Regions from separate parts of the Homo sapiens genome. Here region 1 is linked to region 2. Evidence: promoter capture Hi-C in human tissues and cell types (Jung and others, 2019). All regions are on one chromosome and are shown on one strand. The core of a region is centred on a gene start or on the middle of the fragment in contact, and the rest is flanking DNA. Distances in the headings are between cores, read along the strand shown.

What was found. The method cuts DNA at HindIII sites, captures the fragments that hold promoters and counts their contacts. A contact is called where the count stands out against the background at its distance.
Region 1: a contact is called between a fragment that was not itself captured here and the fragment with the promoter of SNX30 in region 2, in 2 of the 25 tissues and cell types used here (hippocampus and stomach).

What each region holds. Positions count from the first base shown.
Region 1 is chr9:111,740,905-111,745,077 of GRCh38, forward strand. SHOC1 (shortage in chiasmata 1) reads right to left here. Exons shown (of 28, transcript NM_001378211.1): 11 at 572-666. Among named protein-coding and RNA genes, the nearest start is that of SHOC1, 52 kb to the right of the region's middle. The HindIII fragment of the contact is 7,015 bases long and covers 1-4,173 here.
Region 2 is chr9:112,748,391-112,752,473 of GRCh38, forward strand. SNX30 (sorting nexin family member 30) reads left to right here and starts at 2,370. Exons shown (of 9, transcript NM_001012994.2): 1 at 2,370-2,767. The coding sequence starts at 2,612. It overlaps SNX30-DT (SNX30 divergent transcript), which reads right to left and starts at 2,175. Exons shown (of 1, transcript NR_186503.1): 1 at 494-2,175. RefSeq lists a silencer at 2,128-2,947 and enhancers at 2,217-3,138, 3,139-4,058. The HindIII fragment of the contact is 10,773 bases long and covers 71-4,083 here.

The DNA of each region.
Region 1 (4,173 bases), core at 944-3,443, 1.0 Mb before region 2:
TGAGACAGAGACTTGCTCCTTCACGTAGGCTGGAGCGCAATGGCGCCATCTCGGCTCACTGCAACCTCCGCCTCCCAGGTTTTCAAGTGATTCTTGGGCCTCAGCCTACCGACTAGCTGGGACTAAAGGTGCGCTCCGACACTCCCGGCTAATTTCCGGCCGTTGTTAAAATGTTTTTAAACGTCTTTTTTGGAAAGCTTGGGCAACTAAAACTTTTAACATTAGATGAGATTTTTTTTTATTTTTATTTTTTTTTACAAACAACTCACAACTTTGGAAATACAAATTACTTGTATGGGACAGTTTTATGTACTACTTGTATTTCATTTCTTTTCTTTTCCTTCTCCCATGTATAGGAATTACCCAGAAAATCAGCAAGATCCGGATCTTGTCATATACTTCTGCACCTAGCATAATGAACCTTATGGAAGATATCTTGGTATTTTAGCTTTAGGCGAAGTTATATATTCTGTTAAGAAATGGTCAAAGAAAAAGGATATCCCACATTTCTACTCGTTGTACCTTTTTACCTATACTTTCTATTTATCACTTAAAGGCAATTAATCTTTACCTGTAAGCAAAAATGGGTTCAAAGGGCTTCTACATCTTTCTAATTGCCACATCATGTAGTATTCATTAGCTGATTCTTCAGCAGTAAGCAAATTACTGAAAAAAAGAGTTAAAGTTTAATACATTAATAATATTGAGTCTTTTGTATAATAAAATTTTATTTTATTTTATTTTTTTGAGGCAGAGTCTCGCTCTGTCGCCCAGGCTGGGGTACAGTGGCACTATCTTGGCTCACTGCAACCTCCGCCCCAGATTCAAGCGATTTTCCTGTCTCAGGCTCCCGAGCAGCTGGGATTACAGGCGTCTGCCACCATGCCTGACTAATTTTTGTATTTTTAGTAGAGGCGGGGTTTCACCATGTGGGCCAGGCTGGTCTCCAGCTCCTGACCTCAAGTAATCCGCCCACCTTGGCCTCCCAAAGTGCTGGGATTACAGGTGTGAGCCACCGCGCCTGGCCCAAAATTTTATTTTTAAAAAGTATTTTTAAAGTACTTTTACACTCAAAATCAAGTGAAAAATTGACTTTATAAATGTGTAAACTGCAGTCGAGTTCTACAGACCAAATATCAAACACAGTACTCACTTCCTCCATCCTTGGGAAAGTTTGGTAATTTGTAAACTCAATTGTTCCTACTTGACTGTAAATTACTCCCACCTCTACCTCCCTCAATGGAACCTGGAGCCAGAGAGGGCTGACTTGGGAGAGTTTTAGCACTTCCCTCCATAAACTATGCTAGCGTCAACCTTATACGCCACCAAAAATAAAAATACAATCTAAGTAAAATTACCATGCTTACCATGCACATAGCAACCTCAACAAAAATTTTTATAAAATTGCTGTCCCCAAGTCCATTCCATATAGAAATTCTGGATCCTCTACTGGCTGAGGATCAGAACTGTGAAAAAGTCCTTCTCTGGAGATGGCAGAGTCCTAAAGTTTAGTTCAAGACCTTCAATCTTGGTGGGTTTGTGAGTGAGTGATGTGTGTCTGTGTATGTGTGTTTAGGGGTACTCGGGGGGAGAAGGGAGAAAATAAGCATGTCAATCAGTGTAAATTACAGCTCATCTGTAGCTATGATGCTACTAGCCTTCGTAGGGGAAAGACTATTAATTCATAAACCCCTTAATCTGTGTCCCAAGCTCCCTGCTACCCTGAGTGAGAACTGATTGTATTCTGTTTCTCTGTTCATATGGAACATATATGAGCATGCTAATTATAAGTATTGCCAGTTAAATTGACAGTCTAGGGCAGTGGAAAGCTAGGTTTTATGTCTAAGGCATCCAGTTTACCCACATAATCCAAAAATCTGGTCATGTGATAGAAAATTTGAGAATCTAGACAATTCCTGAATCTTACCAAGGTTTCTTTGACAACACCTCAGATTGTAAGCAACTATTTTAAAGTGAAAGGAACGTGTTATATTTAGCAGGCCATGTCCAATATAGACACACATTTTCACTCTTAACGGAGCTTTCTGAAGGCATGTCTGAATCTGATACATTGTTCATAAAAATATATTCACAAGTCAGCAGTCAGTTAGTAGCTTAATAAAATCTTATGCCATACAGACTTTTCTTTTTTAGCCCATAAAATCTAGCATAGAATCTTATATGTGGTAGGCACTAAAAATATTGTTAACTGGGTATTATTTTCAGCCAAAATGTTGTGCTCTGAAATAAAAATAATTGGGACCATAAAAATAAGTTAAAGCTACAATAACATTCTTTGTTATTTTTCCTTCTTTTTTTCAAAAAAATTTTAACACCTTTTCTCCTTGTTTTTAGTTTTACAGTTGAGATATACAGTAGTTCCCCCTTATCCATGAGTTCACTATACTCGGTTTCATTTATCTGTGTTCAACTGCAGTCCAAACTATTAAACAGAATATTCCATAAACAATTCATAAGTTTTAAATTGCACTGTTGCGAGCAGTGTGATGAAATTTCATGCCATCCTACACCATCTCGCCCAGGATGTGAATCATCCCTTTGCCCAGCATATCCACACTATATGTACTCACTACCTGCCCATTAGTCACTTAGTAGCATTCTCAGTTATCAGATCAGCTGTTGCAGAATCACAGTGCTTGTGTTCAAGTAACCCCTTCTGTATTTAATAATGACTCCAAAGCACAAGAGTAATGAGGATGGTATTTGTTATGGTCGTTCTATTTTACTATTTTACTATAGTTATTGCTGTTAATGTCTTACTATGGCTAATTTATAAATTAAACTTTATCATAGGTATGAATATATGAGAAAAAACAGTATATATAGGGTTCAATAACATTCGCAGTTTCAGGCATCCATTTAAGGTCTTGGAATTTATTCTCCCGGCATAAAGGGGGACTACTGTAAACTCATTTTTAAAATATGGATTTTTAAGCTTTTACAGTTGCCAAACAAATGGAAGTGATTTATCTCTTGCTGGTAAATGTAGTAGTGAGGGGAAAACTTCTTTCAGTTGTTTCAAATGGCTCTAAAACCATTAGCTAATTTGAAAGCCTTTTTTTTCTAACTTTGCCAAATCGTAAGTCATTAGTTAAGATTTGTTTCATAAATTCTTATTAGATATTTGAGTTATAACAATAGACATATAACTTGTGATTAAAAAGAGCTTATTATGGTTTAAATACTTCTAAAATCAAACTGAAATTAAAGATCATACTAATTTCTGCTAGTTTCTGTTTCTAAAAATGCCAGTCTGTCATAACAGATGGATTAGGGTGTATGGACTAAATAAAAGAGTAAAAGGGCACTAACAAAAACAGTATATGTCCTGCAAATAAATATCTTGTACCTTATCAAGAGAACTAAAAGTATTTAAACAAAGTGTATGTAGTTTCCATACTTGTCCTATGCTCTTTTTAGGGCTCATATCTGATATGGACAATTCTTAGTTCATGATAGAACTCTGTATAGCACAAATTTACTCTAGAAATGTAAATAATTCTTAGCCAGAAGATAAAGATATATTTAGGGCCCTCAGTCTTATGCTTTGACACTTTCCTGAGACCATTAATAGAAGCCTAAGCAGCCAGTGATGAATTATACAGCCTTGACTCCAGCTGGTCCCAGTAATCCAAATAGCACTCTCCTCTGGCAGATCAGCTAATTATAACAAGAATTCAAACCTAACACACACAGTTCCCACAGTTTCCAGTCCTGGAATAATTCATTAGAGACTTGTAGACTTTACTGTCATCTTCCTGAAAATATGTTATTTTAGGACACATTAAGTTCTAGGTTTACAGTAGACTAATTGTACTGGTTATGTTCCCAATTTTTTAACTGGCGTAAGAAGCAGAGGAATGGAATGGCTTTATTCCAGGATAGCAGACTAATCAATCTTAGAAAACATTAAGCTACATGTGTGCTGCATGGTTTAAGACAGCAATGAAAGCTATCTCAGACTCTATCAAAGGGCAAGGATGCTGGGCTATTAAGCTATGCAGTTTTGGCTCAAACTAGAATATAATGACCTAGCCCTGCAGTATCAATTCTACAATTTCAGACTATTCTGTGCAATAATGATGGGGTATTGAACAAGTTTACGAATCAAGCCTTGGTTCTGTATGTCTGGTCCACCCATTACTGAGACCA
Region 2 (4,083 bases), core at 1,120-3,619:
TGGGTCCTTTTTTTGGTGGGAGCATAGAAAAGTGGTACTCCAATCTAAACTGAGCAAATGGAGGACTTTGGAGGTCAATACACACACACACACACACACACACATATACACACATATATATGTACACACACATATATATGTATATATATATATATTTTTTTTTATTTTGAGACAAGGTCTCCTTCTGTTGCCCAGGCTGAAGTACAGTGGTGCAATCTCAGCTCATTGCACCCTCAACCTCCCAGGCTCAAGCAATCCTTCCACCTCAGCCTCTTGGGTAGCTGGGACTACAGGTATGTGCCACCATGCCGGACTAATTTTTACATTTTTTATAGAGATGGGGCTCTCACTATGTTGCCCAAGCTGGTCTTGAACTTATGGGCTCAAGTGATCCTCCCACCTTGGCCTCCCAAAGTGCTGGGATTACAGGTGTGAGGCACCCTACCTGGTGTGTATGTGTGTGTATATATATGTATATTCAACCAGACCCTACTCAGAATAGTAAAGCATATTTAATTACAAAAACTCTTTATTATTTCATAAGAATAGTAGAGAAAATCTGACAGAAAGGGAAAGGAAGGTAGGTAATTAACATTTAGGGAGCACCTATTTTATGCCAGCACTTTGCTAGGACTATGACATAAAGAATGCTATATAACTCTCACAACCATCTCATAAGGTATTATTACCTGCTCTCCATTCTCCTCCTTTTTAGGTTAGGAACAGGTTCACTGAGGTTAGTAACTTGCTCATGGTCACCCACTTGTAGTGACAAAGCCGAATTCAAATGTGGTTCTTTTTTCACTTTCCCCTGGTGTACTAAAGAGAAAGCTTGTATAGAGTCTTAATCCATACGGATGTCCATTATATTTAAGGCAGCCTGGTTGTTAAAATAAGTAGCACCATTCAATAAGAAAAACCGATGTTATACATCTATAGATGTATATACTCATTTCTAGAAATACTCATTTCTAGTTATATTGTGCTATTCATTTTCATGCTAATTCAGAAGAACAGATAATAGGGTCTGTAGTAGTTGTAAGCAGCCCTTGAATGTGAAAGTGTTAACAATTTTAATCCAACTCCAAGAGGACCAGAACTTGGCATTCCTTAGATGCAGCATTTAAAATTGTTCCCAGTGCCCTTTGAATGCTACTTTTCCCAGCCAAGGCAGGCTTATGTGGAGGAGATAAAGATGATAGCTTGAGGACTAAGGGTCCAACCCTATATAAATTACATTGGGGGAAATAGGGGAAGGTCTTTGAAGCTCAGAGTCTCTGACTGATATTTTGGGTAGATTTCAACCCTCTGCATTCTCTTCTATTTGTTTCTAGAGAAAACTGTGGTAGAGGCCTTAGTGAATCCCAGAGTCAACATCTGTCATCACCTTTTAGCAGGTAAGGCTAGGCAAACCTTTGAGTTTGGAATGGGTAGGGAAAATGTGGTCCCTCACGATGAGCCTCCCTACCCATTACTTTGCTAGAGGGACTGAAAACCCTTTAAAGACTTGGCCTTGGAAACAGAAGATCTAGGGACAGGTAAGGTGGAAAAAGGAGGTGAACCTACACCCCAAAGGGCTGGAAGTAACACCTTGACTATTTGCACCACGCCAGCAAATAAAGCTGAGAATCAGCTCAGCCCAAGGCCTGGAAAGGAAGCACAAATGCATGAAGAATAACTTGAACCTCATGGTTCTTTCAAAAGTCTCTTCGGCCAAAGTGTGAGTTGAAGAGTCGCATATCATTTGAGACTCTCTACTCATGCTCGCTGTTCTGAGGTTTGACTTTACACAAATCCAGCTCAGCTGCAGAAGCAAGCCACAATGGGGACCTCAGAGTGAGCCTGAAGACTCCCCACACCGCCTCTTTGAAGTCCCTTCCAGGTTCCCCACCCGATGTCCTCTAGCTCATTTGAGCCTTGTCGCCCTTTATGCTATTCTTCCGATATGGGTCGTAATTCCGTCTATCTAGGGTTCTTCCTGCGCGTGCCTTAGAGGCCAGAAGACCCTGACTCACGTGCGTGTCCTCAAAGCCCCCAGCCCCAAGCGTGGCTGCTGGTGGGCGCATCAGTAAACGCGGGTGGAACGGAACAGGCTCCTCCAACCTCTTTTCCACCTCTGATTTCCGTTAGACATTTGCTCCGCACGGCGGCCTCCGCGAGGCAACGTTGGACACTGGGAGGACAGCCGCAGAGGCCCAGGGCGCACTTCCTGCCGGGCGGGGGCGGGGCCGCGCCTCCTCCCTCCCTCCCTCCGTCCTTCCTTCCCCACGTGCCCCTTCCCCGCCCTCCCCGCCCCCTCCCGGGCGGCCGCGGCGCCTCGGGGGCGGGGCCGGAGCGGGTGGGCGGTGTGGCTGTGTGGGCTGGGCGCCGCGGCCGTGCTGCCAGCGGACCCGCGGCGGGCTCGGGCGCGGAGCGGGGGCGCGCGGCGCGGAGCGGAGCGTCTGAGCGCCGGCAGAGACCAGCCGGCGGGTGGCGGCGGCCCCCAGCACGGCCGGTGCAAGGCCTCGGGTTAAGCGGCGGCCGAGCGGGGCTCGGCCCGGGGTGCTCGGGGAGCTCGCCGCGGCGGGCAGCAGGAGGAAGCGGCGGCGGCGCGTCCCGAGCGGTGCGCGCCATGGCGGGCGGGCCCCCCAAGGCCCTGCCGTCCACGGGGCCCCACTCCCTGCGCGACATGCCGCACCCGCTGGCCGGCTCCAGCAGCGAGGAGGCCGTGGGTGGTGACAGCACGCCCAGCCCGGACCTGCTGATGGCCCGCAGCTTCGGTGACAAGGTGGGGCGCCTGGGGCCGGGGAGTGGGAGGCTTATTTCGCTCCCCGTGGGGGGGATGATGGATCCGGAGCCTTCGTGGGCCTGGGGCCGCGCCCACCCTGCCGCCCCTTCCCGGGGGACGGGCGTGTCCTGGCCCCGGAGCCCTCGGCGAAGCGTCTCCTCTGCCGCCTCCGCGGGGTCGCAGCCGCAGAGGGACAGGCTTCGCTGCCTGTGACTGGTCGCAAGCACCGGTGACAGCTGGTGGGGAGGGGTCCAGCCTGCGTGTTGGAGCGGGAGGCGTGTGTTCAGGGCAGGGCGCCTGTGTCCTCGGATGGGGTTCCGAGTTCCTCCAGGTGCATCCCTGCAGGCTGAGCTGCTGCATAACTTGTAGCTCCTCCAGTTTCCGAGACTGCACAGAAAGCAGGAGTTCCTGGCTTTCCGTGCTGGGACCGGGCAGCCCTGGGCTTACAGCGAGAGTCTTCTTCCCCCTAGTCAGTCATGTGGGGAGTGATCTTTGTTTAGGTTTGCTGTTTGTCCTGAGGAGTCACCTGACTCAGACCCCAGCCGGCGGCGGGAGGAGAGCCTCGTTGTGGTTTTCTGTCTGGGGCTCCATTCACCTCCGACGGCCTACCACTCTGTTTAGGTTTGGCAGAGGCTGGTTTTGTGGTTGATGGAAAGAAAGCTCGCCCTTTGACCTTCTTTGTACGGAGGGAGGCTCCAGATTTTCTTAGAGCAGCACAACCCTCCTGCTGCTTGGAGAGACAGCAGAGTCCAGGCAGGGGTAAGGGACGACCTCCTCCCTACCCCCATGGCCATTTCAGCTGTGAAGGAGACTTGAGCAGTGATTGTATCCCCGCTCCTGCCGTCACTTAGTCACTAACTGCAGAAATTAGAATTGTTCTCAGGTCTTGTGATCAAGATTTTCTCTCCCTAGTAAAATACTAAATGAATTCCCCCTTGTCCCAATATTAATGGGAGCAGGGGACCTAACTTTCTTCTCCCGTTAGAGGGGACACCATGTGGTACAGTGAAAAAGGAGTATGAGAAAATATAACCTGCCCTCCTTGCAGTCAGAAGGTCACTGAGCACTTAAAATCACTAGAGAGTGCGACTTGATGTACCTTCTGCAGAGGGTTTGTGAAAGCAGGGAGTGAAGTTCCAAAGCATTAGGAACAGGAAAATTAAAAAAGCTAATGGAGGCCAGGTGCAGTGGCTCACACCTGTAATACCAGCACTTTGGGAGGCTGAAGTGGGATGATTGCTCTGAACCAAAAGTTTGAGACCAGCCTGGGCAACATATCGAGACCCCGTTTCCACATACGCACACAGCATGGTGGC